5 separate regions of the Homo sapiens genome follow, and regions 2, 3, 4 and 5 are each linked to region 1. Evidence: promoter capture Hi-C in 16 types of primary human blood cells and fetal thymus (Javierre and others, 2016). All regions are on one chromosome and are shown on one strand. The core of a region is centred on a gene start or on the middle of the fragment in contact, and the rest is flanking DNA. Distances in the headings are between cores, read along the strand shown. Region 1 holds the start of ERCC2 (ERCC excision repair 2, TFIIH core complex helicase subunit). Region 2 overlaps RELB (RELB proto-oncogene, NF-kB subunit). Region 3 overlaps PPP1R37 (protein phosphatase 1 regulatory subunit 37). Region 4 overlaps CLPTM1 (CLPTM1 regulator of GABA type A receptor forward trafficking). Region 5 holds the start of MEIOSIN (meiosis initiator).

Region 1 (5,992 bases), core at 1-2,500:
GTCTTAGGCAAGTACCTTCACCTCCCCAGACCTCAGTATCCCTATCTCTAAAATGAGCCTAAAGCCAGGCGTGGTGGCTCACACCTGTAATCCCAGCACTTTGGGAGGCTGAGGCAGGTGAACCACCTGAGGTCAGAAGTTCAAGACCAGCTGGGCCAACAAGGTGAAACCCCGTCTCTACTAAAAATACAAAAAATTAGCCAGATGTGGTGGCGCGCACCTGTAATTCAATCTCAAAAATAAATAAATAAAATAAAATGGGCCTAATAATAAAACCTTCCTCATAACATGACTATGAGGATTGTGAGAAATTGCAGGTTAAATATTTGGCACAGTAGCTGATATATAGTGAACTTTTCTCCCTTCTTTTTTAAGAGACAAGTGTCACTATTGCCCAGGCTGGAATGCAGTGGCACAATCATGGCTCACTGCAGCCTCCAACTCCTGGCCTCAAGCGATCCTCCTGCCTCAGCCTCCCGAGTAGGTGGGATTACAGGCGCCCGCCACCACACCTGGCTAATTTTTGTATTTTTAGTACAGACGGGGTTTCACCGTGTTGGCCAGGCTGGTCTCCAACTCCTGACCTCAAGTGATCCGCCCGCCTCGTCCTCCCAAAGCTCTGGGATTACAGGCGCGAGCCACCGCGCCCAGCCTATTCACCATTATTGTTTTAGATAACGGAAGATTATGGGGTCCTGGATTCCCAGGGACCTCGGACTTCTAAAATCCAGACGTCCTGCAATCTGTCTTAGGCCCAGGCGTGGCAGCCCCACCGGTCGAGTGGGCGGGTCGGGCCCACCGGCCACCCACCTTGGCGTCCAGCGTGCGTTTGAGCTCCCGCATGTAGGAGAACTGCTCGGGGTAGATGTAGTCGTACGGGAAGTAGACCAGGAGCCCGTCCACGTTGAGCCTGGCGGCAGGGGCTGCTGGGTCAGTTCCCGTCCCCTCAGCCCCTCTCCCGCCTCCACAGTGCCCGGTCGTCGAGCCCAGAGAAGGGTGACGGGCCCGGCGCCCCCGGTAACCCTCAGGTCCTCAGGAGCCTCGGGGCCCCCTCAGTGTCTCCTCGCTATCACTGCTGCTCCCTGCGGCTGCCCCCGTCCCACCCCTTCACCCTCCCCTCGCCCCCTTGGGGACCCAGGCGCGCCCACCGATGACCCCATCTTCAAGACCCCCCGCGCCCGCTAGCGAGCGCGACCCCCAGCCCCCTTCTCACTTCATGGCGCCGGCCGGACTGTGCAGCGGGGTCGACCCGCCTCCCTCATGAATATTCAGCGAGAGGCCGGGTCGTGGACATCCTCGAGGGCTCGCTCCACCTATATTACGAGACCATTGGCTAACCTGCCCGTCAATCCGCTAGGGCAGAGCCAATCGGGATACTGCGCGTGCGCACGGAAAAGCGAGGGCGGCTGACTCTCGGGTGAGGCGGTGCGGGAGGCGTCACTGAGGATCGTCGAGGGCCAATCAAAAAGAAAACATGGAAGGGAAAGAGCCGAGAGACTCGATCTCATTCACTAGAATTTGGTCCTCCTGCGCCTGCCAAGATTGTCTGAGTATTGATCGAACCCAGGAGTTCGAGATCAGCTTGAGCAAGATAGCGAGAACCCCCGCCCCTCCACCTCGTCTCAAAAAAAAAAAAAAATCGTCTCAGTAGCGAATAGTCTAACGGAGAATGACAGGGAAATTGGTGATCCTTTCTGGGCCCAAGAGTTAGAAATGGCTTTGCAGGCCGGGCGCGGTGGCTCAAGCCTGTAATCCCAGCACTTTGGGAGGCTGAGGCAGGTGGATCACCTGAGGTCGGGAGTTCAAGACCAGCCTGACCAACATGGAGAAAACCTGTCTCTACTAAAGATACAAAATTAGCCGGGCGTGCTGGCAAATGCTTGTAATCCCAGCTACTCGGGAGGCTGAAGCAGGAGAATTGCTTGAACCTGGGAGGCAGAGGTTGCAGTGAGCAGAGATGGCGCCGTCGCACTCTAGCCTGGGCAACAAAAGCGAAACTCCATTTCAAATATTAATAATAATAACTAATAAATAAAACATAAATGCTAGCTTTTGTTTGTTTCTTCAACAAATAGCTATGTGGCATCTACCATGTGTCTGATCCTGTGCTGGCCCCTGGGAACAGAAAGGTGACCATGACAGCCTCAGCACCTGCCCTCAAAGAACAGATTTTTTTCCTTGAGACAGGGTCTTTCTCTGTCGCCAAGGCTGGAGTGCAGTGGCACAGTCACAGCTCACTGCAGCCTCCACCTCTTGGGCTCAAGCGATCCTCCCACCTCAGCTTCCAGAGTAGCTGGGACCACAGGTGTGCACCACCAAGCCCAGCTAAGTTTTATTTTTTAAATTTTTTTAGAGACGAGGTCTCACCACGTTGCCCAGGCTGGTTAAACTCGCAGGTTCAAGTGATCCTCTCCCCTCAGCCTTTCAAATTGTTGGGATTACAGGGGTGAGGCACCAGGCCTGGCCTCAAAGAACAGATATTAAATATACAAATGAATATATGATTACAGCCTGGAGTGGTGGCTCGTGCCTGTGGTTCCAACACTTTGGAAGGCCAAGGCGAGTACATTGCTTGAGCTCAGGAGCTAGAGACCAGCCTGGGCAACATGGTGAAAACCCGTCTCTACAAAAAATGCAAAAATTAGCTGGGCGTGGTGGCGTGCACCTGTAGTCCCAGATACTCAGGAGGCTGAGGTGGGAGAATCACCTGGGCCTGGGAGGCAGAGGTTGCAATGGGCAGTGATTGTGCCACTGCACTCCAGCCTGGGCAACAGGAGTGAAAACCTATCTCAAATGTGTGTGTGTGTGTGTGTGTGTGTGTGTGTGCGCACGTGTATAATCACAAGTACAAAAGTGCTGTGAAGGAAAACTTCAAGTCACCATAAAGATTGATTATGGGCTGGGTGCAGTGGCTCATGCCTGTAATCCCAGCACTTTGGGAGGCCAAGGCAGATGGATCACGAGGTCAGGAGTTCAAGACCAGCCTGGTCAACATGGTGAAACCCTATCTCTACTAAAAAAAAAAAAAAAAAAAAAAAAGCCAGGCATAGTGGCATGCATCTGTAATCCCATCTACTCGGGAGGCTAAAGCAGGAGAATTGCTTGAACCCAGGAGGCAGAAGTGAGCCAAGATCACGCCACTGCACTCCAGCCTGCGTGACAGAGCAAGACTCCGTCCCAGAAAAAGAAAAAAAAAAAAGACTTATTATGACAGGATGTCTACTGTCAACTGTGGGGTGTGAGTGTTGGCCAAGTGATCAGAGAAGGCTTCGTGGAAGAAGCGAGGTTTGAGTAGAGCCAGAAAATAATTAGAAGAGATCAACCAGCAAGAGGGGATGGATGAGAGAAGTGAGAAAGGTGTTCCAGGGAGAGAGACCATCATACACAAAAGCTCTAGGCCAGAAGAAAGCTGAGGCCTGTGAGTGCTGAAAGGAAGCCTGTGGGGGTGGAGCTCTGAGTTGAGCACAGGGAGCAGAGAAAGGGCAGCTGGAGGGGAAGGCAGGGGCAGATCGAAATCTCTTTTTTAAATTAATTAATTCTTAATTTATTTATTTTTGAGACAAGGTCTCACTCTTTCGCCCAGACTGGAGTACAGTGGCACAATCTCAGCGCACCGCAACCTCTGCCACCCAGGCTCAAGCAATTCTCTGGCCTCAGCCTCCCTAGTAGCTGGGATTACAGGTGCGCACCACTACTGCCCAGCTAATTTTTATACTTTTAGTAGAAACGGGGTTTCACTATGTTGGCCAGGCTGGCCTCAAACTCCTGACCTCAAAAGATCCACCCACTTCAGCCTCCCAAAGTGCTGGGATTACAGGTGTGAGCCACCCTTCCCGGCTGTATTTTTGGAGACAGAGTCTTGCTCTGTCCCAGCCTGGAGTATGGTGGTGTGAATTTGGCTCATTGCCACCTTGACCTCCAGGGCTCAAGTGATCCTCCCACCTCAGCCTCCTGAGTAGCTGGGACTGCGGGTACACGACACCACGCCTGGTTAATTTTTTTTAATTTTTTGTAGAGACGAGGGTATCTCACTATGTTGTCCAGGCTGGTTGAACTCCTGAGCTCAAGCAATTCTCCCACCTCAGCCTCCCAAAGTGGTGGGATTACAGACGTGAGCCACTGTGCCCGGCTTAATTTATTTACATAAATTTTTTTATGTTTACTTTTCTATCTCCTACAGGAAGAAAATATATTTTGTTATTGACAGGGTCTCGCTATGTTGCCCAGGCTGGTATTGGGCTCAAGCCATCCTGTTCCCTCAGCCTCCCAAAGTACTGGGATTACAAGCGTGAGCCTCTGCATCCAGCCCAGATCCAAAATCTTTACTGTCACCTACAGAGTCCTCTGTAACTAGCTTACTGCTCATCATCCCCATACCAACCCACCTTACTGCTCTGATCTCCTCCTCTCTCTCCCCCAGCTCATTTTGTTTCAGCTATGCTGGTCTCCTTGCTGTCTCTAAAACATAACAAGCACATCCCATCTCAGGGCCTTTGCACCAGCTATTTTGTCTGCCTGGAATGCTGTTTCCCCTGATAGCCATGTGGCTGACACACTCACCTCCCTCAGCTCTTTGCTCAATTGTCAACTTCTCGGCCCGGCATGGTGGCTCACACCTGTAATCCTACCACTTTGGGAGGCTGAGGTGGGCAGATCACCTGAGATCAGGAGTTCGAGACCAGCCTGGCCAAGATGGTGAAATCCCGTCTCTACTAAAAATACAAAAATTGGCAAAGCATGGTAGCACATACCAGTAATCCTAGCTACCCGGGAGGCTGAGGCAGGAGAATTGCTGGAACCCGGGAGGCAGAGGCTGCAGTGAGCCAAGATCATGCCACTGTACTCCAGCCTGGGTGACAAAGCAAGACTCTGTCTCAAAAAAAAAAAAGTCTCCTTCTCAATGAGGGCTTCCTGACCACCAAATTAAATCTACCTCCTAGACACACACACACACGCACGCACGCACGCACACACACACACGCACGCACGCACACACACACACACACACACACTATATCCCCTTTCCCTGCTTTATTGTTCTTGAGAGCTCATTTAACCATGTGACATGCTGAATATTTTACTTATTTATTTTGTTTAGAAAGCTCCTGGCTGGGCGCGGGGGCTCACGCCTGTAATCCCAGCACTTTGGGAGGCTGGAACAGGTGGATCATGTGAGGTCAGGAGTTCCAGACCAGCCTGACCAACACGGTGAAACCTCATCTCTATTAAAAATGCAAAAATTAGCTGGGTGTGGTGTCGCATGCCTGTAATCCCAACTACTCAGAAGGCTGAAGCAGGAGAATCGCTTGAACCTGGGAGGCAGAGGTTAACGCTGAGCCGAGATCGCGCCATTGCACTCCAGCCTGGGCAACAAGAGTGAAACTCTGTCTCGAAAAAAACAAAAGTCAGCTCCATGGCAGGAGTGATGGCTCACGCCTATAATCCCAGCACTTTGTGAGGCCGAGGCGGGCGGATCACTTGAGGTCAGGAGTTGGAGACCAGCCTGGCCAACATGGTGAAACCTCATCTCTACTAAAAATACAAAAATTAGCCGGGCGTGGTGACACATGTCTGTAGTCCCAGCTACTTGGGAGGCTGAGGCTGGAGAATGGCTTGAACCTGGGAGGTAGAGGTTGCAGTAAGCCAAGATCGCGCCATTGCTCTCCATCCTGGGCAACAGACTCCGTCTCAGAAAGGAAGAAAGAAGGAAAGAGAGAAAGAGAGAAAGAGACAGAGAGAGAGAGAGAAAGGGAGAAAGAGAGAAAGGATGGAAGGACCCTGACAAGCACTGTTGCATAAAAGTTTCTTTTCTCTCTCTTTTTTTTTTTTTTTTTTTTTTGAGACAGGGTCTCACTTCTGTTGCTCCAGCTGAAGTGCAGTGGTGAGAACATGGCTCAGTGCAGCCTCAACTTCCCAGGCTTAAGTGATCCTGCCACCTCAGCCTCCTGAGTAGCTGGGACTGTAGGTGTGCACCACCGTGCCTAGCTAATTT
Region 2 (5,681 bases), core at 2,363-4,862, 360 kb before region 1:
ACATAGTAAAACCCCGTCTCTGCTAAAAATACAAAAAAAAAAAAAAAAAAAAAAAGCCGGGTGTGGTGGTGTGCACCTGTAATCTCAGCTACTCGGGAGGCTGAGACAGGAGAATCACTTGAACCCAGGAGGCAGAGGTTGCAGTGAGCCAAGATTGTGCCACTGCACCCTAGCCTGGGTGACAGAGCAAGACTCCGTCTCAAAAAAATAAAAATAAATAAAATAAAATAAAATAAAATATTAAATAAAAGTATCTTAGCCCAACAAGGTAGGCATTATTATTGTGCCCATTTTACAGATGAAGAAGCCAAGGCACAAAAAGGTGAAGTAATAGGCTTATGGCCCCACAACTAGCAAGTTGCAGAGCCAGGATTTGAACAGAGGCAGTGAACCCAGAGCTCCAGCCACAGCCGCCCAGGACTCAGTCTCCCCCTACAGCCCGGGAGCCTCTGGAGGGTCCAAAGTCTAACTCTGTCTTTGGGTCCCCAGGTTCATCCAGCACAGATGCCTAAGAAGGATTTTCCCAGTTCAAGTGACTTGAGGTTGGCCCTGCCACTGACCTAGAGCGTGTCCCTTCCTCTCTGCCAGCCTCAGTATCCCCATCTGCCAAATTGGGGGGACCTTGGCACCCTACTGGCTTCACAGATCCCATGAGATAAGGGGTGCAGGAAAACTACCTTTCAAGGGGCAAAGGTCTGGCTGCCAGGAGCCACTCCCTGAGAACAGAGGAGGACAGATCTAGCAGCGGAACAGGTTCGCGTCTATAAATCCCCAGCCAGAGACCAGCGCAGGCAGCCCTGGGTGGGACACCTGGCTGCAGCTGCCTTCCGTTGCTGTGTGATTCTAAGGCTCACTGGCGGCCTCTGGGCTTCCCCTTGTCCTGTCTATGGAATGACGGGAGGTCGGTTTCGATTCCTCCACGATTCTGTGAAGGGCTGAGCTTTCCTGGGGAGGTGAAAAGGGGCTTCCCTGAGGACCCAGCATTACTGTACCTCCTCACTTAGGAAGCAGGGGTGAATCTGGGATTTTGGGTGGTCACTGTGGGAGGACAGGGCTGGGGTACAGAGCAAGAGGCTGCCTGGGTTCAGATCAGCCTCTTTGCATCTTTTTGTTGTTGTTGTTGTTTGTTTTTGAGACAGTCTCGCTCTGTTGTCCAGGCTGGAGTGCAGTGACGCAATCTCAGCTCACTGCAACCTCTGCCTCCTGAGTTCAAGCGATTCTCCTGCCTCAGCCTCCCGAGTAGCTGGGATTACAGGTGCCCACCACGATACCCAGCTAATTTTTGTATTTTTAGTAGAGACGGGGTTTCGCCATGTTGGCCAGGCTGGTCTCGAACTCCTGACCTCAAGTGATCTGCCCACCTCAGCCTCCCAAAGTGCTGGGATTACAGGCGTGAGCCACCAGGCCTGGCCACCTCTTTGTATCTTTAAACACCAGCCAGTGACCTCCAGGACCCTGGGGTGGACTTCAGGGAGGGAACACACCCCAATTTGTTTGGAAATTTGGGCATCCACTTTTTCCTGGTGCTAAGACCCCTTTCTAATGGGTTCCCAAAAAGACTTCATAATCCCTGGTCTAAATGTTTTTCGGGAGGCATTTGGCTTAGTTGGAGGATACCCTGATGCTGGGACCCCAACATTAGAGGTTGAAAGGATGGTAGCCCAGAGGAGAAGATGAGGTTTGGGGTTTAGTGCCCCAGCAAGTCAGAGCCCAGGGTTTCCCAGGACGGAGGAAGACGGAAGGGTCACAGGAGGGACAGGGTTGGGGAATCTGTCTTAAAAGATGAAAAGTTGTGACCACTTTCTGGACCTTACCTTTCTCTTTCTCTTTCTCTTCCTTCCACAGATGAATTGGGTGAGTATCACAGGGCAGGTTTGCGGGGAGGCTGAGGGACCCAAGTGCCTACAGAAGGGGGTCTTGGCCTTCCTTGTTCAGTGGGGGTGGGGGAGAGGTGTCACTGTGTGACTTCCAGGACTGTGGAGGGATTTGAACGAAGTCATGCTCCTAAGGTACTTAGCAGTGCTTGACACTTGGAAAACACTCAGCACGCCGGGGGCTGTGTGACTCACACCTGTAATCCTGGCACTTTGGGAGGCAGAGGCAGGAGGACTGCTTGAGGCCAGGAGTTCAGGACTAGCCTGGGTAACATAGTGAGACCCCCATCTCTACACAAAATTTTTAAAAATTAGCCGGGCATGGTGGTGCGCACCTGTAGTCCCAGCTGCTCAGGAGGCTGAAGTGGGAGGATCACCTGAGCCTGGGAGGTTGCCTTGGAAGCCGAGGCTGCAGTGAGCTATGATTGCACCACTGCACTGCAGCCTGGGCGGCAGAGCAAGACCGTGTCTCAAAAAGAAAACCAATTAAAATAAAATAATGTTATTAATCCCCTAGTGAGTACAGACAGACACTGTTTTAGGCCCTGGGGATTTAGCCATGAACAAAACCAAGTCCCTGCCCTCGCAGAGCTGATAGCCCGGTGTGGGAGACAGAGGAAAATGAACAGATGAGCAAGATAATGTTAGCCTGGGCTGAGAGCTGTGAAAGAAATAAACAGGACGAGGGAGAGATGGCCTGGAGAAGACACATTAGGTTAGGCTTTTCTGAAGAGATAACATACGAGCTGAGACCAGGAGGAGAAGCAGCCAGCATGGGTTGAATGGGGGACCGTGTGGAACAGGCAGTTGGAGGAGCAAGTTCTTTCTTATTTATTTATTTAAGTTATTTTTTGAGACAGAGTCTCGCTCTGTCGCCCAGGCTGGAGTGCAGTGGTGCTGTCTCAGCTCACTGCAACCTCCACCTCCCAGGTTCAAGCAATTCTCCTGCCTCAGCCTCCCGAGTAGCTGGGAGTACAGGCATGCACCAACATACCTGGCTCATTTTTGTATTTATTTATCTATTTATTTAGAGATGGAATTTCGCTCTTGTTGCCCAGGCTGGAGTGCAATGGCATGATCTTGGCTCACTGCAACCTCCACCTCCCAGGTTTAAGTGATTCTCCTGCCTCTGCCTCCCGAGTAGCTGGAACTGCAGGCACACATCACCATGCCCAATTTTTATATTTTTAGTGGAGATGGGGTTTCACCATGTTCGCCAGGCAGGTCTCAAACTCCTGACCTCAGGTGATCCGCCTGCCTCGGCCTCCCAAAGTGCTGGGATTACAGGCGTGAGCCACCATGCCCAGCCTATTTATTTATTTATTATTATTATTTTTTGAGATGGAGTCTTGCTCTGTTGCGCAGGATGGAGTGCAGTGACGCAATCTCGGCTCACTGCAACCTCCGCCTGACGGTTTCAAGCGATTCTCCTGCCTCAGCCTCCTGAGTTGCTGGGACTACAGGCACGTGCCACCATGCCTGGCTAATTTTTTGTATTTTTAGTAGAGACAGGGTTTCACTGTGTTAGCCAGGATGGTCTCGATCTCCTGACCTCATGATCCGCCCGCCTCGGCCTCCCGAAATGCTGGGATTACAGGCATGAGCCACCGCGCCCAGCCTATTATTTATTGAGAGACGGAGTCTCACTCTGTCGCCCAGGCTGGCGTGCAGTGTCACGATCTTGACTTACTGCAGTGTCCGCCTCCTGGGTTCAAGCTGTTCTCCTGCCTCAGCCTCCTGAGTAGCTGGGATTACAGACGTGGGAGACCATTCGGGCTAATTTTTGTAGAGACGGGGTTTCACTATGTTGGCCAGGCTGGTCTCGAACTCCTGACCTCAATTGATTCACCCACCTTGGCCTCCCAAGGTGTTGGGATTACAGGCGTGAGCCACCGCACCTGGCCTCCCTGACTCTGTGTGTGTGTGTGTGTGTGTGTGTGTGTGTGTGTGTGTGTGAGAGAGAGAGAGAGAGAGAGAGAGAGAGAGAGAGAGATAAATGGGATGGAAAACGTCTCGGGGGTAATCAAGCCTTTTTTTTTTTTTTTAATTTTTTAAAGAATGGGCGTCACCACCCGTTTTTTCTTCTCCCGCAGAGATCATCGACGAGTACATCAAGGAGAACGGCTTCGGCCTGGACGGGGGACAGCCGGGCCCGGGCGAGGGGCTGCCACGCCTGGTGTCTCGCGGGGCTGCGTCCCTGAGCACGGTCACCCTGGGCCCTGTGGCGCCCCCAGCCACGCCGCCGCCTTGGGGCTGCCCCCTGGGCCGACTAGTGTCCCCAGCGCCGGGCCCGGGCCCGCAGCCGCACCTGGTCATCACGGAGCAGCCCAAGCAGCGCGGCATGCGCTTCCGCTACGAGTGCGAGGGCCGCTCGGCCGGCAGCATCCTTGGGGAGAGCAGCACCGAGGCCAGCAAGACGCTGCCCGCCATCGAGGTGGGCCCGGCGAGCGGCCCCGGGCGGGTGGGACTGGGGCTTCCCCTGCACCCCGGAGCCATCCACATGCATTTATACGTTTATTTGATGGTGGCTGTTGTTGTTATTGTTGGACCAGATATTAATTATACTATCACCTGGCCTGGAATCCAAAAGGTTCAGAAAAAAGGAGGGGTCGGACATTTGGCTGGGCACGGTGACTCGCGCCTGTAATCCCAGTACTTTGGGAGTCTGAGGCGGGCGGATCCCTTGATGTCAGGAGTTCGAGACCAGCCTGGCCAACATGGTGAAACCCCATCTGTACTAAAAGTACACAAATTAGCCGAGTGTGGTGGCACAATCCCAGCTATTTAGGAGGCCGAGGTGGGAGGATTAGCTGAGCCCAGGGAGGTGCAGGCTGCTGTGAGCTGAGATTGCACCATTGCATAGCAGTCTGGGTAACAGAGTGAGACCTTGTCTCAAAAAAAAAGAAAAAAAAAAAAGAAGGCAGATCGTGGTGCGGTGGCTCAGGCTTGTAATTCTAGCACTTTGGGAGGTCGAGGCGAGCGGATCACTCGAGCTCAGGAGTTCTAGATGAGCCTGGGCAAGACGGCAAAACCCCATCTCTACAAAAAATACAAAAATTAGCCAGGTGTGGTGGCACATGGCTGTAGTCCTAGCTACATGGTAGGGCTGAGGTGGGAGGATCGCTTGAGCCTAGGAGGTCAAGGCTACAGTGAGCCAAGATCGCACCACTGCACTCCAGCCTGAGCAACAGAGCAATACCCTGCCTCCATTAAAAAACAAACAAATATATATAACACTGGAAGTAAAAAAAGCAAAGGTGATTACTTTTGGCAGGGTATTAATGTATTAATAAGGTACAGGTAAGTTTTATTTTTTTGAGACGGAGTCTTGGTCTGTTGCCCAGGCTGGAGTGCAGTGGTGTGATCTCGCCTCACTGCAACCTCCACCTCCCGGGTTCAAGCGATTCTCCTGCCTCAGCCTCCCGAGTAGCTGGGATTACAGGTCCACCACCACGCCTGGCTAATTTTTGTATTTCTTAGTAGAGAAGGGGTTTTGCCATGTTGGCCAGGCTGGTCTCAAACCCCTGACCTCAAGTGATCCGCATGCCTTGGCCTTCCAGAGTGCTGGGATTGCAGGTGTGAGCCACTGTGCCTGGCCTCTTTGGTGTCTGTTAATCTGGATCTGTTCTTCAATCTGTCTTTGTGTTTCGTGAGTTGAACATTTGTGCAGAACAGGACGGATGTTTTGTAGAATGTCCCACATTCTGAAGCTGGTCGTGGTGGCTCATGCCTGTAATCCTAGCACTTTGGGAGGCCGAGGCAGGCGGATCACCTGAGGTCGGGAGTTCGAGACCACCCTGACCAACA
Region 3 (6,253 bases), core at 2,747-5,246, 260 kb before region 1:
GGCTCACAGAGGTGCCAAGGCCACACAGGTAGTAGAGGAGGAGCTGAGTTATAGCCCGGCAGCTTGAATGGTTCTGATCCTCTGTCCTGTTTCAGAAAGCCCCCAGGGCTCCACTGTAACTACAGGACAAAGTCCACACCCGTGGGCCTGGTGTGGGAGGCCTTTCCCACAGAACGCCCAGCCTCCTAGACACAGGCGCCTCTGCCTAGCACGCCCCTCGCTAGTCCCCTGCCCTTCCTGACCAATTCCCGTTACCCCTCCCACGCCTAGACGCAGGCGCCTTTGCCCAGCACACCCCTCGATAGTCCCCTGCCCTTCCTGACCAACTCCCCCTCCCGTGCTGCCTTCTGGGCAAGGCCTTCTCTAATCCCCGGACAAAGCTCTGCTCCGCTCGTCTGGGTTCCCATGGCGCCTCCTCGCTCTGTTGTTATTTGTTCGGGCCCATCTCCCCTCCCTGGACCAGTGCTGCAGAGGGCTGCATCCTGTCCATCTGGCTCCTGGGAGGGGTGGAACCACTGAACGCCTCCAGGAACCTTAAGGACTCCGGGCAAAGTGGGGTTGCTTATGAGCACCCAGGCCGGGTGCCGCAAAGCCTTTGTAACCCAGGCACTGGGGCTCAGGACAGTCAGGGAGCATGGGGTGTGGGGAAGGAAGATTTCGTTCACTGAGTCCTTTTTTCCTGCATTCATTCCTTCATTCCTTGCCAACCAGCGCCTGTTTTGCCTCCACTTTGCTGTCCCTGCCATGCCAGGTGGAGGGGCCTCCCAATGGCTCTCCTGCTCCCTCTCCAACCCGCTCCCCACCTAGCAGCCACAGCATTCTTGAAAAAGCAGACTTTGCTATTCCTGTTTCACATCACACTTGTGACCTCCCTGCTGCCTTTCCCTCTGATCTAGTGTCCCTGCAACAGGTTAGGAAGCCCAGGTATAACCTGGCTCTTGCCACCATCGCCGGCCACGACCGAGATCACCTTGCCATGCTCTTGCTGGGTTCAAGCCATCGTGGCTTCCTTTCAGTCCTAGAACACGCAGGCAGCTCCCCACATCCTGTCCTGGAAGACCGGCCCCACCTACGCACACAGGTGGCTCTCACTAATCTTTCAGGTGCCAGCAAACCCTTCCTTCCTGGCCCTCCTAATGGGCTCCCCGTCAGGTGGCCAGCGATCTGCTTATCTGCGGGCCTGCTGATACTCTTGCCCTGGACTGGAAGCATCACTAGGCAGTGGTGGGTTGGGTTTGGTGCCACTGTATTCCCCAGTGCCCCAGACCACGTGGCACTGGGCCTGGCTCTGGGCAGGAGCGCAATATGGCAGGTGGAGAAGGAAGTGGCATGCAATGCTGGGTCTTAGTCCTTGCCATGAGCAGCTCAGACAGTCCCTACCCTAGCATAGTCCCTGGTCCAGAAAAGGAAGTGGGCAGAGAGGAGGAGGAGCTTTAGGGAGGGGAGTACAAAGCCTGCCTCTGGTATCCCCCCGCCAGCCTGGTGAGAATGGCAGCGCAGGACTGGCAAACAGGCCCGTCTTTGCTGTTGACTTGCTGGGGGTCATAGGCCAGGATGCTTGCCCTCTCTGTGGGGCAGGATGGTGCCCGGGGTCCTTTCCCACTGCGCGTCAGTGTTTCCCATCTCTCCATGTAGGACACCGCACCATTTAGGGAGTGATTGGATCCCAGGACCTCCTCCCTGTCACGGGGTGGCAGGCAAGGTTCTGATAATTGATCTGCCGTGTACCTTTGTGGCAGGTGACCTAATTCCCCATTCCCTGTGACCCATGTGTCACAGGTGTCAGGGGCGACCGGCCACCCAGCCAAGCTTCCATGACTCCGTTCTCACTCTGTGTTCTGTAATCCCCTTCTGTCACGGGCTTGGGATCCTTGATTCCCGGCCCGGTTCTGCCTACTATGATCACAATGAACAGTCAGTGTTCCGTTTCCCTGGAGGGCTGCCTTCCTTGCTGTGCCTGGACCTGTGTTCCCTGCTGGACAAGTCCCAGGGGGTCAGGCCCGGGGCTTTCTCGGTCCCTGCTGTGTCTCCTGCACAGCTCCAGGCACAGAGCAGGTGTTCAGTAAATGTTGTTCCATTAAAATGGAGTTGGGGCTGTTGCTGGCAGAGCCCAGGGACAGCGCCCTCATGGAGCCTGGCTTAGAGTGCCCAAGTCTGACAGTGGCCTGATCCTGTCTGGTCCTGGGGTGGAGCAGACACCAACAGGCGGGGCCATCTGACTGAATGTCCTCCCACCAGCTGTTAGGTCCAGGTGTTTGTGCTTACTGCCTTCCAGTGCAGTCAAAAGAATCCAGGGCTGGCACCAGCCCCTTCCTCATCTCAGGGGTAGAGGGGTAACCAGAGAGGGGCGGCACTTACCCAAGGATGCCCTGGCACTTGGGTCCAGGCTCCTGCTGCTCTCCTCGGCCACCCCTCCAGCTGTTTTGTTTTTGTTTTTGTTTTTTTTTTGAGATGGAGTTTCGCTCTTGTTGCCCAGGCTGGAGTACAGTGGCAGGATCTTGGCTTACTGAAACCTTTGCCTCCCAAGTTTAAGCGATTCTCCTGCCTCAGCCTCCCAAGTAGCTGGGATTATAGGCATGCGCCACCATGCCCAGCTAATTTTTTTGTATTTTTAGTAGAGACAGGGTTTCACCATGTTGGCTGGGCTGATCTCGAACTCCTGACCTCAAATGATCCACCCGCCTCGGCCTCCCAAAGCTCTGGGATTACAGGCGTGAGCCGCCGCGCCTGGCCTGTTTGTTTTGAGATGAGGTCTTCCTCTGTCGCCCAGGCTGGAGTGCAGTAGTGCAATCCTAGCTCACTGCAGCCTCCACCTCCCAGGCTCAAGTGATCCTCTTGCCTCAGCCTCCAGATTAGCTAGAACCACAGGCACAAGCCACCATGCCTGGCTGATTTTCTTATTTTTAATTGTTTTGTAGAGATGGATTTGCACCGGGTTGCTCAGGCTTCGTTGTGCTTTTGATTTGCATTTCCTTATGGCTAATGATGTTGAGCATCTTTTTTTTTTTTTTTTTTTTTTTTTTTGAGATGGAGTCTCGCTCTGTCACCCAGGCTGGAGTGCAGTGGCGTGATCTCGGCTCACTGCACGCTCCGCCTCCCAGGTTCACGCCATTCTCCTGCCTCAGCCTCCCAAGTTGCTGAGACTACAGGCGCCCGCCACCATGCCCGGCTAATTTTTTGTGTTTTTAGTAGAGACGGGATTTCACCATGTTAGCCAGGATGGTCTCAATCTCCTGAACTCGTGATCCGCCCACCTTGGCCTCCCAAAGTGCTGGGATTAGAGGCATGAGCCACCGTGCCCAGCTGATGTTGAGCATCTTTTTATGTGCTTGCTGAACACTTGTGTATCTTCTTTGGAGAAATGTCTTTTTAGTTCTTTTGCCCATTTTTAAATTGAGCCAGCCGGGCACAGTGATTCATGCCTATAATCCCAGCACTTTGGGAGGCCGAAGAGTTCGCGACCAGCCTGGGCAACATAGCAAGACCCAGTCTCTATTAAAAAAAAGGGGAGCCAGGCGCAGTGGCTCACAATTGTAATCCCAGCACTTTGGGAAGCCAAGGTGGGCAGATCATTTGAGCCCAGGAGTTCGAGACCAGCCTGGACGACATGGTGAGACCCCATCTCTATAAAAAAATGTAAAAAATTAACCAAGCCTGGTGGCTCATGCCTGTAGTCCCAGCTACCTGGGAGGCTAATGTGGGAGGATTGCTTGAGCCCAGGAGGTCGAGGCTGCAATGAGCTGTGGTCTTGCCATTGGACTCCAGCCTAGGTGAGACTCTGTCTCAAAAATAAATAAAAAATAAGTAAATGAATTGTTTGTCCCTTCATTATTGAGTTGTGAGAGTTCTATATACGTGTATCCCGGATGCAGGACTTCTCAGCTGAGCGATTTGCACCACCTGGGATGTTTTCAGCGTGTAATGCCAGTGCATTTCCTTCCCGTCTCTTCTCTCTGGCTAGATTCACAGCCACCGCTAGATAAAAATAAAGCTGTGAGGATACTGTAGATACAGTTGAATATCCTGCTTCTGCACTTCATTTTTCCGTTTTTTTAGAAAGCATGATTTAAAGTACATCACTGGGCTGTTGTAATTCATTCTAGCCATTTCCGCATTGCTGAGCGTTTAGGTCCTTTCCAGTTTTCAGTTGCATAGATAATGCAGTGATGTTCGTCCTTGTCCATAAATCTTCATGCTCATCACACGGGTAGCCTTCTTAGAAAAAATTCTTAGAAGGTGATTTTACCAGGTCAAAGGGAAGGAACATTGGAAGTCTCAGATACTGGCTGTGCCCACATTGGACAGTGAGTGTTGAGGGCTAGGGTTCTGTCGTCATAGTCACCACTGTAGCTTTAGATTTTTTTCTGAGAGAGGGTCTCTCTCTTTTTTTCTGCTTTTGAGGTTTAAACCATGGCCAGAGACAGGGTCTCGATCTGTCCCTCAAGCTGGAGTGCAGTGGCGTGATCTTGGCTGACTGCAAACTCCACCTCCTAGGCTCAAGCCATTCTCCTGCCTTAGCCTCCCGAGTAGCTGGGATTATAGGCGCGCACCACCACGCCCGGCTAATTTTCGTATTTTTAGTAGAGACGGGGTTTCACTGTTGGCCAGGCTGGTCTCAAACTCCTGATCTCAGGTGATCTGCCTGCCTCAGCATCCCAAAGTGCTGGAATTGCAGGCGTGAGTCACTGCACCTGACCAGATTTTTTTTTTAATGATTGAATGAATAGTATTTGCATGTGGGTGCCTTGATGTTAAGATGGTGTCTTGTTTTAGCGAGCGTTCTTTTGACTACTAGTTAACTTCGGTTTTGTTTGTTTGTTTTGTATTTTTGTGGGTTTTTTTTTTTTTTTAATGGAGTTTCACTCTTGTTGCCCAGGCTGGAGTGCAATGGCGCGATCTCAGGTCATCACAACTTCCGCCTCCCAGGTTCAAGCGATTCTCCTGCCACAGCCTCCCGAGTAGCTGGGATTACAGGCATGCACCACCACACCCGGCTAATTTTGTATGTTTTGTAGAGACAGGATTTCTCCATGTTGGTCAGGCTGGTCTGTAACTCCCGACCTCAGGTGATCCACGCGCCTTGGCCTCCCAAAGTCTGGGATGACAGGCGTGAACTACCGTGCCTGGTCTTTTTTGTTTTTTGTAGAGATGAGGTCTCGCTATGTTGCCCAGGATGGTCTCGAACTCCTGGCCTCAAGTGATCCTCCTGTCTTGGCCTCCCAAAGTGCTGGGATTACAGGCATGAGCCACTGCGCCCGACCTAACCTGTTTATTGTTAACATGTTACATGGTTCTGGGAATTGGTTCTTCATGCCCTTTGCCTATTTTTATTTTGGGACCTTTATAAGGACTCCTCTATTGAAGATAGATGTAATTTTATTGTGCAGATATATTTGTCCTCATTTATCATTTGCCTTGCAGGAAAGGTGGGGGACAGGGGTGCAGGACACTAAAGAGAAGCACTTTCTCCTCTGCTATTTCACCGAGTCATCATAGCAAAGCCCCATCTCAGTGTGAACAGCTTGGGATGGAGAAACACAGGGCTGGGGCCCTCAGAGAGGGCAGAGGAGGCAGTGGCAGCCCAGGCCTTGGAGGCCCTGCAGTGTAGGAGAGAGGGTGCTTTAGTGGAGGCCCGGCCTGGGAAAAGGGTTAGCAGGTTACAGAGGGTCCACTGTAACCACAACTCCAGCCCCATTTGCTGAGCACCAGGCTGAGTGACTCGGTGAACCTGCTGGTGCCCCACATTTTTGCAGATAAGAAACTGCTACTTGGGGTCATTGGTCACTTGCTGAAGATGGCAGAAGCCAGGGCAGCCCTGCCTGGGTCCCTGGACACATCCAGCCCACCACAGCTATGGAGGCTCAGCAAGTCCCAGGAGCCTCAAGTTTCAGCAGGAGCCTGGACTCCCTCGTCTCCCACAGCCATGGCCACCACGTCATCAGCACCCTCTGTATGAGGGTCCTGTATGTCATGTGCTGTTTCCTTCCAGTAGCTTCCTGACTCTTCAGGAATACTGTTCTTTGCCCTGAGGATCTGTCGCCCACCTGCATCTGCAGCCTCAGCTCTGCTCCCCCTCTGCCCTGTTGGAGGGTCCTCAGAACCGACTCTTCCCTCTGTCTGGAAGGATGGCCTGGACTTTTGTGTGGCTCCTGTTGGCTTATGGCCTCCTGTCCCCATCCAGTGTAAGCTTCTTGAGATGGGATGTCTGGCTTTTTTGTTCACCAGTGTAGCCTGGCACCTAGAATAGTGCCTG
Region 4 (5,493 bases), core at 1,762-4,261, 400 kb before region 1:
CAAGCTTCCCATTTCTTCCTCCTTGCAACACCTGGCAGCCACTTTTCTATTTCCTGTCTCTCTTTCACTACTCTAGTTAGCTCCTGTATGTGGAATCAGACAGCATTTGTCCTTCTGTGACTGCCTGGTGGTGACCCTTTTACCTGTGGGTTCACATGCTATTCCTGGGCAGTGGGACCCCAGGGCCTGTTTTTTCAAAGCCCAGCTTCTGTTTGAGGCCCTGGGGAGATGCTGGGTGGTGGCGGGGGAATATGCTTGGCACTGGGTTCTATCCTTCCTGCCTAGACCTAGTGACAGTCACCTTCTTTGCTCTGAGCCTTTGTTTACTCCTCTGCAAAATAGATATTCCTTTTATTTTTTTTTTGCTTTTTGGAGATGTATTTTAGCAAAATAAGAGACCACACCATGCAGTTAGGCAATCAGCTTCCCTACTTATGAGATAGAAGGAATTGCACAGCAGAGATGTTTACAACAATCATCCCGCCAGGTGCGGTGGCTCACGCCTGCAATCCCAGCACTTTGGGAGACCGAGGCAGGCAGATCATGAGGTCAAGAGATCGAGACCATCCTGGCCAATATGGTGAAACCCCATCTCTACTAAAAATACAAAAATTAGCTGGGTGTGGTGGCACAAGCCTGTAGTCCCAGCTACTCGGGAGGCTGAGGCAGGAGAATCACTTGAACCTGGGAGGTAGAGGTTGCAGTGAGCCAAGATCGTGCCACTGCACTCAAGCCTGGCGACAGAGCAAGACTGAGTCTCAAAAAAAAAAGAGAAAATAAAAATAAAACAATCATGGCTGGGCGCGGTGGCTCACGCCTGTAATCCCAGCACTTTGGGAGGCCAAGGCAAGCAGATCACGAGGTCAGGAGATCGAGACCATCCTGGCTAACACAGTGAAACGCCGTCTCTACTGAAAATACAAAAAAATTAGCCAGGTGTGGTGGCGGGCGCCTGTAGTCCCAGCTACTCAGGAGGCTGAGGCAAGAGAATGGTGTGAACCCAGGAGGCGGAGCTTACAGTGAGCCCAGGTGGTGCCACTGCACTCCAGCCTAGGCGACAGCGAGACTCCGTCTCAAAAAATAAAACAAAAATAAAAAAATAAAACAATCATTCCTTTGGCTAGAATGTCTTCACATGGCCATGGCCAGCTGCACGGGAGGCTGGGAAATGTGGTCTTTAATCTGGGAAACTGAGCACCCTGCTGGAAAGCAGGGCTCCTATTACTGAGGAAGAAGAGGAGAGTGGTTATGGGGGGCAGCTACTTATCTCTTCCATAAAATCTTATTACTGGTTTCCCTTAGCTTATAAATTATGAGTGTTTATTTTACAAAATTAAGTAGTTCAAACAATACGAAGAGTGAAAAGAAAAAGCTAATGAAAAAGTGTAATGTGGGCCGGGCGCGGTGGCTCACGCCTGTAATCCCAGCACTTTGGGAGGCCGAGGTGGGTGGATCACGAGGTTAGGAGATCGAGACCATCCTGGCTAACACAGTGAAACTGCATCTCTACTAAAAATATAAAAAATTAGCCGGGCATGGTGGCAGGCGCCTATAGTCCCAGCTACTCGGGAGGCTGAGGCAGGAGGATGGCGTGAACCTAGGAGGCGGAGCTTGCAGTGTGCCAAGATGCCGCCACTGCACTCCAGCCTGGGTGACAGAGCGAGACACAGTCTCAAAAATAAAAAAGTGTAATGTGTTGGTGGCCATCCCATAGGCACACATTTTTGTAATTGGCCCTAAATGGGATTATATATAGATGCTCACAGATAGAGTTGTTTAAAATAGAGAAAAGTTAGGAGGCGGGGGGCAGGTAGTGTCAGATAGCGTGTAAGAGCACAGCCCTGCTGACATCTCAGCCCTGCCACCTCTGAGCTCTGTGGCCTGGTCAGGTTATCACCCTTCTTGAGCCTCATTTTCCACCTCACAGACAGGGAATCTTGACAATTAGCTCAGGGTGCATCAGAAGGATTCCAAGAGAATTCATGTCAACTGAGGGGTGCAGGAGCTGGCACGCACACAGACAATGTTGGCCATGATTCCTTTTGTTGTTCAACGTGGAAAAAAAAAAAGCCTGAGCAACACAGTAAGACCCCCATCTCTCTCTCTCTCTCTCTTTTTTTTGGGAGACAGAATCTCGCTCCGTCGCCCAGGCTGGAGTGCAGTGGCGCGATCTCGGCTCACTGCAAGCTCCGCCTCCTAGGTTCACGCCATTCTCCTGCCTCAGCCTCCCGAGTAGCTGGGACTACAGGCGCCCGCCACAGCGCCCGGCTAATTTTTTGTATTTTTAGTAGAGACAGGGTTTCATCGTGTTAGCCAGGATAGTCTCGATCTCCTGACCTCGCTATCCACGCACCTCGGGCTCCCAAAGTGCTGGGATTACAGGCGTGAGCCACCGCGCCTATCCTGACCCCATCTCTGTAAAAAACTAAAAAATTAGCTGGGTGTGATGGCGCACACCTGTAGTGCCAGCTATTAGGGAGGCCGAAGAGGGAGGATCGCTTGAGCCCAGGAGGTCAAGGCTGCAATGGGCCGTGATGATACTACTGCACTCCAGCCTAGGCAACAGAGTGAGACTGTATCTCAAACAAACAAAAACCTTAGGAAATATATAGTGAAACAGTGAAAAAAAAAAGTTCATGAGGCCGGGTGCAGTGGCTCACGCCTGTAATCCCAGCACTTTGGGAGACCAAGGTAGGTGAATCACCTGAGGTCGGGAGTTCCAGACCAGCCTGACCAACATGGAGAAACCCATCTCTGCAAAAAATACAAAATTAGCCGGGCATGGCGGCTTATGCCTGTAATCCCAGCTATTCAGGAGGCTGAGGCAGGAGAATCGCTTGAACCCGGGAGGCGGAGGTTGCAGTGAGCCGAGATCATGCCATTTTACTCCAGCCTGGGCAACAAGAGTGAAACTCTGTCCCAAAAAAAAAAAAAAACAACTCATGATCCCTGATGTAGTCACTGATCACATTCTAGACTAGAGCAGAACTGCCTGCCTGGTGTCCTCCAAGAGTGTCACACAGGACACTGAGAAACTGCAGGAAAGAAACCTCCCCACTCTGTTAAGTTGCAAAACTGACATGTGTGCCTCAAAAATTCCTGCCATGTGCCCTACGCTTCTCAGTCATGCGCCCCTGTCCCTTACCGTCTCCACTTCACCTCCCCTCCCCATGGCCACGTAAAGACTTCAGATTTTCTTATATATCACCTTCTTTTTTTTCATGCTGCAAGCAGCTCTGCATGAAAATTATTTTTATCTTTCCCTTCATTTTTACATAAGAGGTAGCCTGTTTTACACACTGTTCTGCTCCTTGATTTTTTTCATTAACAATATATCTTTGAAATCTTTCCACGTCAGTGCATAGGGAGCTTCCTTCAGAGAGACATTTTTAATACAAGTCACACTGTAGGCTAATTTCCTTTCTTAGAACTAGGCAGCATCAAACATCAGTTCGGGTGGGTGCTCGGAGACCATCTTGGCTGCAGTTCTTAAAATGGGATCCAGGGTTTGTTTTCAGGGGCCCATGAACTCCTTGTAGCTTGAAGCTGATTATGTGGGAATAGCCTTTCTAGATAGCGGGTGGCGTCTGTGTTTTTGAGCACATGTGGTTACCTGGAGTGGGAGGTGGAGCAGGAACTGGGTATATAAAGGAATGGGGTGGGAGGGAGAGTTTTGATTATACGTCTTTTCATATATTTAAAAATGTTCTGAACCTGTGACTGTAGAATACCTATTTGGGTGGGAGAAAGGATTTAATGTCTGTTTTCTTTGCTTACTCAAGTACATCAGGAAGCATTAGAAAGGTCCAGTCTCCTGCAGGCCTGGGTGCATGGATGAGGGGCCATGGCCATGAGCCCTCTGAGAGGGTCCACAGAACTGTGGGCGTGTGGATACACACAGGACGTTCTTCAGGGGACTGGGGATCTGGAATCCAAAAAGGCCTGGCCTTGTTTTATACATGGGGATCTAGAAGCCCAGAGGGGTTAGGACCCCCACAGCCACACACTAAGCCAGGGGCAGAGCTGCCTGGGGGCATCACTGCTTCTACACTCTCCCCTGGTGTGTTTACTAAAATGAGAGCCTCTGCTGGAGGCATCGGTATCCCCAGAGATTGCCAGGTCCAGACCTTCCCCAGACGTGCATATCAGGGACTTCATGGGGAGGTAGCGATGGCTCAGCTGGACCGTGGCCCCTAAGACCCTGGACCCCAGGGCCTTGTGGCTTCTACAGGCAGAGGCAAGTTCCTGTGCCTGATCCTGCCCCTGATCAGGGCTCAGCAGGGAGGCACCCCACCCACACTAGAATTTACTCATAGTGTTTTTCTGCTCCAAAGTTTTTTGTATGCCTTTTTCCTATGATTAAAATAACAGTAATAGCTAACACTTCTCAGTCACTTACTGGGTATGCACCAGGCTCCATTCTGAGGTACGTGTGCGTGTGTCAGATGTATATACACGCTATATAAACATATATATAATTTAATGTGTTTAATGCTTATAAACTACCCTATGAGAGTAGGCACTGTTATTATCCCCATTTCAACCATTGAAGTTGACCACTGAGGTCACAGTAAGTAGCAGAGCTGGGCTTCAGATGAAGATACTGTAGTTTAGAGGCTGGGCTCATAACCTCTTCTGCTGTATGGTTATCATACCTATAATTAATAAGTACTTGAATCATTTAATCACATGGCTGCATGCAGCTGAGAAACCTCCATTAACACAGTACAGGTTCATTTCTCTCTGATATACCAGTCTGGATGGAGGCAGACTAGGATTCTGCAGTCTTCAGTGACCCAGACTCCTTGCTGTTTGTTGTGCCATTGCTAGGTTTTTCCCTTTATCCTCATAGCCCAAGACAGCTGCTGAAGATTCAGCCATCACATCCACACTCCAGGCAACAGGAGAGAAGAATAAATCAAGAAGGAATATTTCTTCTCTTTAAGGACACTTTTTTTTTTTTTTTTTTGAGATGGAGTCTTACTCTGTCACCCAGACTGGAGTCCAGTGGCATGATCTCGGCTCACTGCGACCTCCACCTCCCAGGTTCAAGCGATTCTTTTGCCTCCGCCTACCAAGTAGCTGGGATTACAGGCGCCCGCCACCACGCCCGGCTAATTTTTGTATTTTTAGTAGAGATGGGGTTTCACCATGTTGGCCAGGTTGGTCTCGAACTCCTGACCTCAAGTGTTGGCTTCCCAAAGTGCTGGGATTATAGGTGTAAGCCACCACGCCCAGCCTCGTTTTGGTTTTGGTATCTGTTGTTGCTGCTGATTCTCGCTCATAATGTCGTTTCCTTTTGTGCCTGGCTTATCTCTGTCTGTGTCCTAGTCATTATACTTGAAAAGTTATTTGTAGGAATTTCAGGGCTAGGATGAGCATATTTTCCTACAGAGAGGATTGCCTTTGCTTCTGCCTGGGGGCATTACCAAGTCCTAGGTTTCCTTGCACCAGGTTCAGGGCTTGAGCTGCCCTTCGTGACTCCTTATCCCA
Region 5 (6,209 bases), core at 3,698-6,197, 360 kb after region 1:
CAAAACTAAACAAAAAACCATAAAAATAAATATAGGGCCAGGCGCAATGGCTCACGCCTGTTAATCCCAGCACTTTGGGAGGCCGAGGCGGGTGGATCACCTGAGGCCAGGAGTTCAAGACCAGCCTGACCAACATGCAGAAACCCTGTCTCTACTAAAACTACAAAAATTAGCCAGGGCGTGGTGGCACATGCTTGTAATCCCAACTACTCAGGAGGCTGAGGCAGGAGAATCGCTTGAACCCGGGAGGCAGAGGCTACAGTTAGCCATACCACTGCACTCCAGCCTGGGTGACAGAGGGAGACTGTCTCTAAATAAATAAATAAAAATAAATAAAAGACTTGCCTAAGGTCATATAGCAAGTAAATGGCAGAACTAATATTCTAGACTGCTTTGTTCGCTGTCTCTACTCATCACATTGTATATTTCAGTATGGAGAGAGGACTAAATTATAGTGCTGAAAGCACAGATTCTGAGCCAGGCTGCCAAGATCGGAATCCTGAGTCTAGCAATTAATGCTGGATAGCCTTGGGAAAGTTGCTTAATTTCTCTGTACTTCTGCTTCCTTTCTGTAAAATGGAGAAAATAACAGCACCTACCCCTCAGGGGTGTTATCAGAATTAAATGAGTTAATGTGTACAAACAGCTAAGGACAGGGCCAGGCATTTTGTAAAACAATAAGCGTTAGCTGTAATCCACAGTGGGGAGCCCCTACATGCTTCTGAGCTGGGGTGTGTGCCCAGATCAGTGCCAGCTTTTGAGAAAACGCCTCTGGGACTGGACTGGAAAGGAGGAAATCCATTAGCACCTGTAACCCAGTCACATTCCGGGGGCGGAGAACTTCCCACCAACAGCTCTGAGACTGAAACTTCACAGCCCAGCTCTCCCACTAATAGTAACGATTTTAATGACTCCCTTTAACCCTGTTCTCAGAGGCATGCTTGCTGTTCCCATACTACAGATAAGGGCACTGAGGCTCACAGATTTGTCCATGGCACAAAGGGGTGGAAGAATAGGGGATATGAATGCTGTACTTCTCATAGGGATAAACCATTACACTCTTCTAAATTCCACCGGGGAAGTGAGGGTGCGAAAGCCTGTCTCGATGGCCCTTTCTGGCCGTATTATCCTACAGTTCTGTGCCTGTCCAGCTTACCGGGAGTCTCTGGCGGGACTAGGGAAATTATCACTACATCCAGGCCCCTAATTTCACGCTCCTTACCCCACCCTCAGTCCTGGAGCCTAAACCCACACTCTATCCTACCACTGATTTCTCCCTCCTACCTCCTCAACTTGCCTTCCTGCCCCCAATCCGATCCAGAGGCCCCAACCCATTGCGTCCACCGTTCGCCTGTCCCTTGGAGCTTCCAGACCCCCTCACTCATCCTAACCCTGATCCTCATACCCTCGCCGCAGGTTAAGCCCCCATCGAAATCGACCCCTTCAGGGCCTCTACCTGGATGTCCAGCCCAGTCTCCAACTCGGGGCCCACTTCCCCAGCTCTGAGCCCCTTTACAATCAATTCCAAAGCTCCACTCCCACCCCACCTCCAAGACCCCTCCCCAAGCCACCATTCTTCTACTACTACCTCCGGCTCCCATTCCTCCCAGTCCTCTCCCCCAGGCAATCTCCCCTCACCCAGCCCCTTCTTTCGCCCCTGCCTCTTCCCCCTCGTCACCCGGTCCCGAACCCCCGTCCCGACTCTCCAGCGCCCCCGGCCCGCGCCTGGGCTCTCACCATCGCCGCGCGCTGCATCTCCCTCGGCTACGCGGGTTTCCCCCACTCGCTCCTCTCCAGCCTCCCCTTCCGGGTTCTCGTCCCGAAGCCCGCTGGGAATTGAAGTCCGGGCAGCCACGGACTACATCCCCCAGAAGGCAGCACGGTCAAGCTTGGAGGTGGGGTAGGAAGCAAATTAGGCGGGCGGAGGAAAAGAACGACTCGAACTCCCGGGAGACAAAGCCGGGGAGGACTTGGCAGCGCAAGCGCAGGGTGCTTCCCCGCTGGGCGCGCTGGGAGATGGAGTCTAGCCAGGAGGGCTCCATTTTTGCCCGAGGCCCTTGGGAAGGGAATTGAGAATATTGCAATAGGGTGTTGGTGAGGGGTGGAGAGTTGGGGAAGAGCAAATTTATTGATTCATTTGTGCCGATCAACACAATAGCTAACAGCTCCTTGTGCTTTTCCAAACTCCTTCCCATCCATCCCCTTCTTTTTTTTTTTTTTTTTGAGACGGAGTCTTGCTCTGTCACCCAGGCTGGAGTGCAGTGGCGCAATTTCGGCTCACTGCAACCTCCGCCTCCTGGGTTCAAGCGATTCTCCTGCCTGAGCCTCCTGAGTAGCTGGGATTACAGGAGCCCGCCACCACGCCCGGCTAGTTTTTGTATTTTTAGTAAAAACGGAGTTTCACCATGTTGGTCAGGCTGGTCTTGAACTCCTGACCTCATGATCCACCCGCCTCGGCCTCCCAAAGTGCTGGGATTACAGGCGTGAGCCACCGCGCCCGGCCCGTCCCCTCCTTTCTTACCTCCTGATTTACAAATGAGAAAATTAAGCCTTAGGAGGAAGGAAAGTCCCATACATTAGGAGTTAGTCCACATCATAGAATAGCAGCTCCACATCGCTCGAGCCCAGGAGTTCGAGGCAGTGAGCTAGTGTTACACCACCGCCCTCCATGCAGTTCAGCCTGGGCGACAGAATGAGACCCTGCTGCCTCTTAAAATAAAAGAAGGCCGGGCGCGGTGGCTCACGCCTGTAGTCACAGCACTTTGGGAGGCCGAGGCGGGCTGATCACAAGGTCAGGAGATCAAGACCATCCTGGCTAACACACTGAAACCCCATCTCTACTAAAAATACAAAAAATTAGCCGGGCTGGGTGGCGGGTGCCTGTAGTCCCAGCTACTCGGGAGGCTAAGGCAAGAGAATGGCGTGAACCCAGGAGGCGGAGCTTGCAGTGAGCCGAGATCGCGCCACTGCACTCCAGCCTGGGGGACAGAGCGAGATTCCGTCTCAAAAAAAAAAAAAAGAAGAAGAAGAAGAAGAAGCTCCAGGAGGGCAGAGATCTTTGTGTACCTTGTTCAAGCACCTAGAACAGCGTAAACATGTGTTCAGTAAATATTTATTGCATCGGAACTATATGCCAGACACCCTACAGACAACCCTGGTAGGAATTACAATCCCAAATTTATAAGGCAGAAAGAGATTAAGCCTCTTGTCGCTGGCAACACAGCCAAGAAAACGATTTGAACTGAAATGTATTGGATTTCAGGGTTTCTACTCTTGACTAGGTCGTTAGATCATCTCCCCTTAAGACGTATTTTCCAGGCTGGGTGCGGTGGCTCATGCTTATAATCTCAGCCGGGAGACTGGCTTTAGTCCAGGAGTTTAAGACCAAACTAGGCAGCAAAGTGAGACCCTCGTCTCTACCAAAAAAAAAAAAAAAAAAAGCCCAAATCTTTTATTCTTTTTCTTTCTTTTTTTTCCTTTTTTTTTTTTTTTTTTTTTTTGAGACAGAGTCTTGCTCTGTCGCCCAGGCTGGAGTGCAGTGGCGATACCAGCTCATTCAACCTCCACCTCCCAGGTTCAAATGATTCTCCTGCCTCAGCCTCTGGAGTAGTTGGGACTACAGGCGCGCCCCACCATGCCCGGCTAATTTTTGTATTTTTAGCCGAGACGGGGTTTCACCATTGTTGGCCAGGCTGGTCTGGAACTCCTGACCTCAAGTGATCCGCCCGCCTCGTCCTCCCAAGAAGGCCCAATTCAAATGGCCCTCCTCTTTGAATCCTTTCCCAACGTATTGTTCTCTGCATTAACCGAGTTCCCGTCTCACCGGATTCTCATGGTCTCGGAGGTTCTCACGGTCTTCTCGATTGTACTGGGAAGACAGTGGCTAAGTTCCCACCATCTAGCCTGGTGCTTGGCACACAGGAGGCCCTCATGAATCACGAACTGAAGGGAAAAGGTGGAAATGGGACATCATAGGGCCAGAAGGGACACAGGCGAGCTCGCTCTCTCTCTCTTCCTGAGAGTTGGCAGTTGAGGAAACCCAGCCTACTTGGGATGCAACGGCCCTGGACCACGCGGGTCGTGCAGGGGCGTGACCGCTTAAAAAGGCGGGTGGCTGAGCGGGCGCTGATTGGTCACCTAGCGGCTCACGCCGACCAAGGCCTTGTCAGAAGGCTCGAGGCCGAGCTCACGCTGTGCAAGACGACAGGGCCCTTCCCGAGGCGCGCGTGCGCACGGCCACTTGCACCCTGCCCTTTCAACCCCGTCGTCTCGTGCCCAGCACATCTTGGCTGGAACTGGTAGGGGCGTGGCCTGGCCTCAGGAACGCACTCTTGCTCTGCTCCTCACGCCTCGCGCAGGATCCTCGCGCCGGGAGGATTCGCACCCAACCCCAAGCCCGGTTGGGAACGTGGTGTCCGAGACCGTCTGGGATCCCCGCGCGCACGGCCGGCTTCCCGGGACCCGCGCGAGACGCTGTCTGATCGGGCTCCCTAGAGTGGGGCCCGGAGAAACCAGAACGGCGGGGGCAGCCTCACGCCATTTTGCACGCCCTGAGGCGGGTGCTGGAGGCCAAGGGGAATGGGGCGCGGGGCAGGGGGCCTCCCCCAGCACTAGCTGGGCTTAGGGGAACCCGGGATCCCCACAGGAGCTTCCCTCGGTGGGGGGCTCAGGGGAATAGAACATGCTCTGGGTGCAGGGCCACGGGCGACGGAGTTTGGGTTTGAAGCCGGGGGTCCAGGTTCGAGTTTGAGGAACGGAAGACTCTGTTTGTGTTGGGAATCCGGGCTCTCGAGTTCTGATCTGGGATCTCGGGATTTGTGTCTAGGGGTGACTAGTTCTGGAATCTGAAGAGCTTGAGTTTTGTGACTGGAAGCTTTCTCCTTGGAATCCAGAGATCCCAATTTGGGGATCTGGAAGTCTTAGTTCTGAGTTATGATGTAACATTTTGAGAGTCTGGAGCCTGATTTGGGGCAACTGAAGCCTCAGTATAGATTTAGGGCCTAAATCCCAATGTAGAGTATGAAGCTTTAGGATCTGGAGTCGCAGTTTGAGTCTTTAGAAGCACGTTTTAGGGCCTGGAGTGCCCACATTGAGTATGGGAGCTCCAGTTTTAGGGTCTGGGGTTTCAGAGTAGGACCCACATTCGAGATCTCAGTTTTAGGGTTGGGGCCACAATTTGAGGGACAGTTTGGACGTCTAAGAGGTCAATCTGGAGAAGTGAGATTTGTTTCATAGGGGCCTGGATTTCTTATCTTAGGATATAGGTTCATAGTGTTACAGCTTGCAGTCTGTAATCTTAGTATTAGGATCATATTTGAAGATCAGAAGTTGACAGTTTGAGGGTCTGGGGTATCTCAGTATTAGAATTTAGGGTTTGTAGGTTTGGGAGGGCTCCTTTTTTTTTGTTTTTGAGACAAGGTCTCACTTTGTCATCCAGGCTGGAGTGCAGTAGTGCGATTTTAGCTCACTGCAGCCTTGACCTCCTGGGCTCAAACCATCCCCCCACCTCAGGCTCCCAAGTAGCTGGGACTACAAGCATGTGCCACTATGCCCAGGTAATTTTTTTTTTTTTTTTGTAGAGGTGGAGTTTTGTCATATTGCCAGGCTGGTCTCAAACTCCTGAGATCAAGCAATCCTCCTGCCTTGGCCTCCCAAAGTGCTAGGATTACAGGCGTGAGCCACTGTACCTGGCTTTGGGAGGGCTCCAAAGTGAGGATTTAGGTCCTCATTTTGGGACTCTAAAGTATTAGTTTTAGTGCCTTTTTAGAGGTTTAGGGGTTTGTTTTTGTTTTTGTTTTTTGAGACACAGTCTCACTCTGTTGTCCAGGCTGGAGTGCAGTGGCTTAATCCTGGCTCAGTGCAACCTCCGCCTCCCAGGTTCAAGTGATTCTCCTGCCTCAGCCTCCCAAGTAGCTGGGATTACAGTCGTGCACCACCACGCCCGGCTAATTTTTGTATTTTTAGTAGAGATGGGGTTTCACCATGTTGGCCAGGCTGGTCTCAAACTCCTGACCTCGAGTGATTTGCCTGCCTCGGCCTCCCAGAATGCTGGGATTACAGGTGTGAGCTACCACTTCTGGCCAAGGTTTAGCTGTTTAATTTGGGTCTTTGGGCCCATAATTTGTTGGGGCTAGGGACTCTTATTTTGGGATCTCTGGGTGCTCAAAGGAGCATCATAGGGAAGATGAAGGGTGCCCATCAGGGTTCCT

What was found. The method cuts DNA at HindIII sites, captures the fragments that hold promoters and counts their contacts. A CHiCAGO score of 5 or more calls a contact.
Region 2: a contact is called between a fragment that was not itself captured here and the fragment with the promoter of ERCC2 in region 1, in 1 of 17 cell types (M2 macrophages). The highest score is 5.2, in M2 macrophages.
Region 3: a fragment that was not itself captured here is called in contact with the fragment with the promoter of ERCC2 in region 1 in 1 of 17 cell types (monocytes); the score reaches 6.0 in monocytes.
Region 4: a contact is called between a fragment that was not itself captured here and the fragment with the promoter of ERCC2 in region 1, in 1 of 17 cell types (erythroblasts). The highest score is 5.4, in erythroblasts.
Region 5: a contact is called between a fragment that was not itself captured here and the fragment with the promoter of ERCC2 in region 1, in 1 of 17 cell types (naive CD8 T cells). The highest score is 5.7, in naive CD8 T cells.

What each region holds. Positions count from the first base shown.
Region 1 is chr19:45,369,323-45,375,314 of GRCh38, forward strand. ERCC2 (ERCC excision repair 2, TFIIH core complex helicase subunit) reads right to left here and starts at 1,251. Exons shown (of 23, transcript NM_000400.4): 1 at 1,214-1,251; 2 at 811-910. The coding sequence starts at 1,218. RefSeq lists enhancers at 5-846, 1,465-1,544. The HindIII fragment of the contact is 22,978 bases long and covers 1-5,992 here.
Region 2 is chr19:45,007,969-45,013,649 of GRCh38, forward strand. It overlaps RELB (RELB proto-oncogene, NF-kB subunit), which reads left to right. Exons shown (of 12, transcript NM_006509.4): 3 at 1,846-1,854; 4 at 3,968-4,308. Among named protein-coding and RNA genes, the nearest start is that of RELB, 9.3 kb to the left of the region's middle. RefSeq lists an enhancer at 3,665-4,166. The HindIII fragment of the contact is 8,461 bases long and covers 1-5,681 here.
Region 3 is chr19:45,103,811-45,110,063 of GRCh38, forward strand. The region is part of intron 1 of PPP1R37 (protein phosphatase 1 regulatory subunit 37); the gene reads left to right. Among named protein-coding and RNA genes, the nearest start is that of PPP1R37, 14 kb to the left of the region's middle. RefSeq lists an enhancer at 1,395-1,984. The HindIII fragment of the contact is 4,378 bases long and covers 1,808-6,185 here.
Region 4 is chr19:44,964,737-44,970,229 of GRCh38, forward strand. The region is part of intron 2 of CLPTM1 (CLPTM1 regulator of GABA type A receptor forward trafficking); the gene reads left to right. Among named protein-coding and RNA genes, the nearest start is that of CLPTM1, 12 kb to the left of the region's middle. The HindIII fragment of the contact is 6,018 bases long and covers 3-5,493 here.
Region 5 is chr19:45,729,112-45,735,320 of GRCh38, forward strand. It overlaps MEIOSIN (meiosis initiator), which reads left to right and starts at 4,328. Exons shown (of 15, transcript NM_001310124.2): 1 at 4,328-4,555. FBXO46 (F-box protein 46) reads right to left here and starts at 1,785. Exons shown (of 2, transcript NM_001080469.2): 1 at 1,738-1,785. RefSeq lists a silencer at 640-934 and enhancers at 1,783-1,892, 1,983-2,112. The HindIII fragment of the contact is 152 bases long and covers 4,872-5,023 here.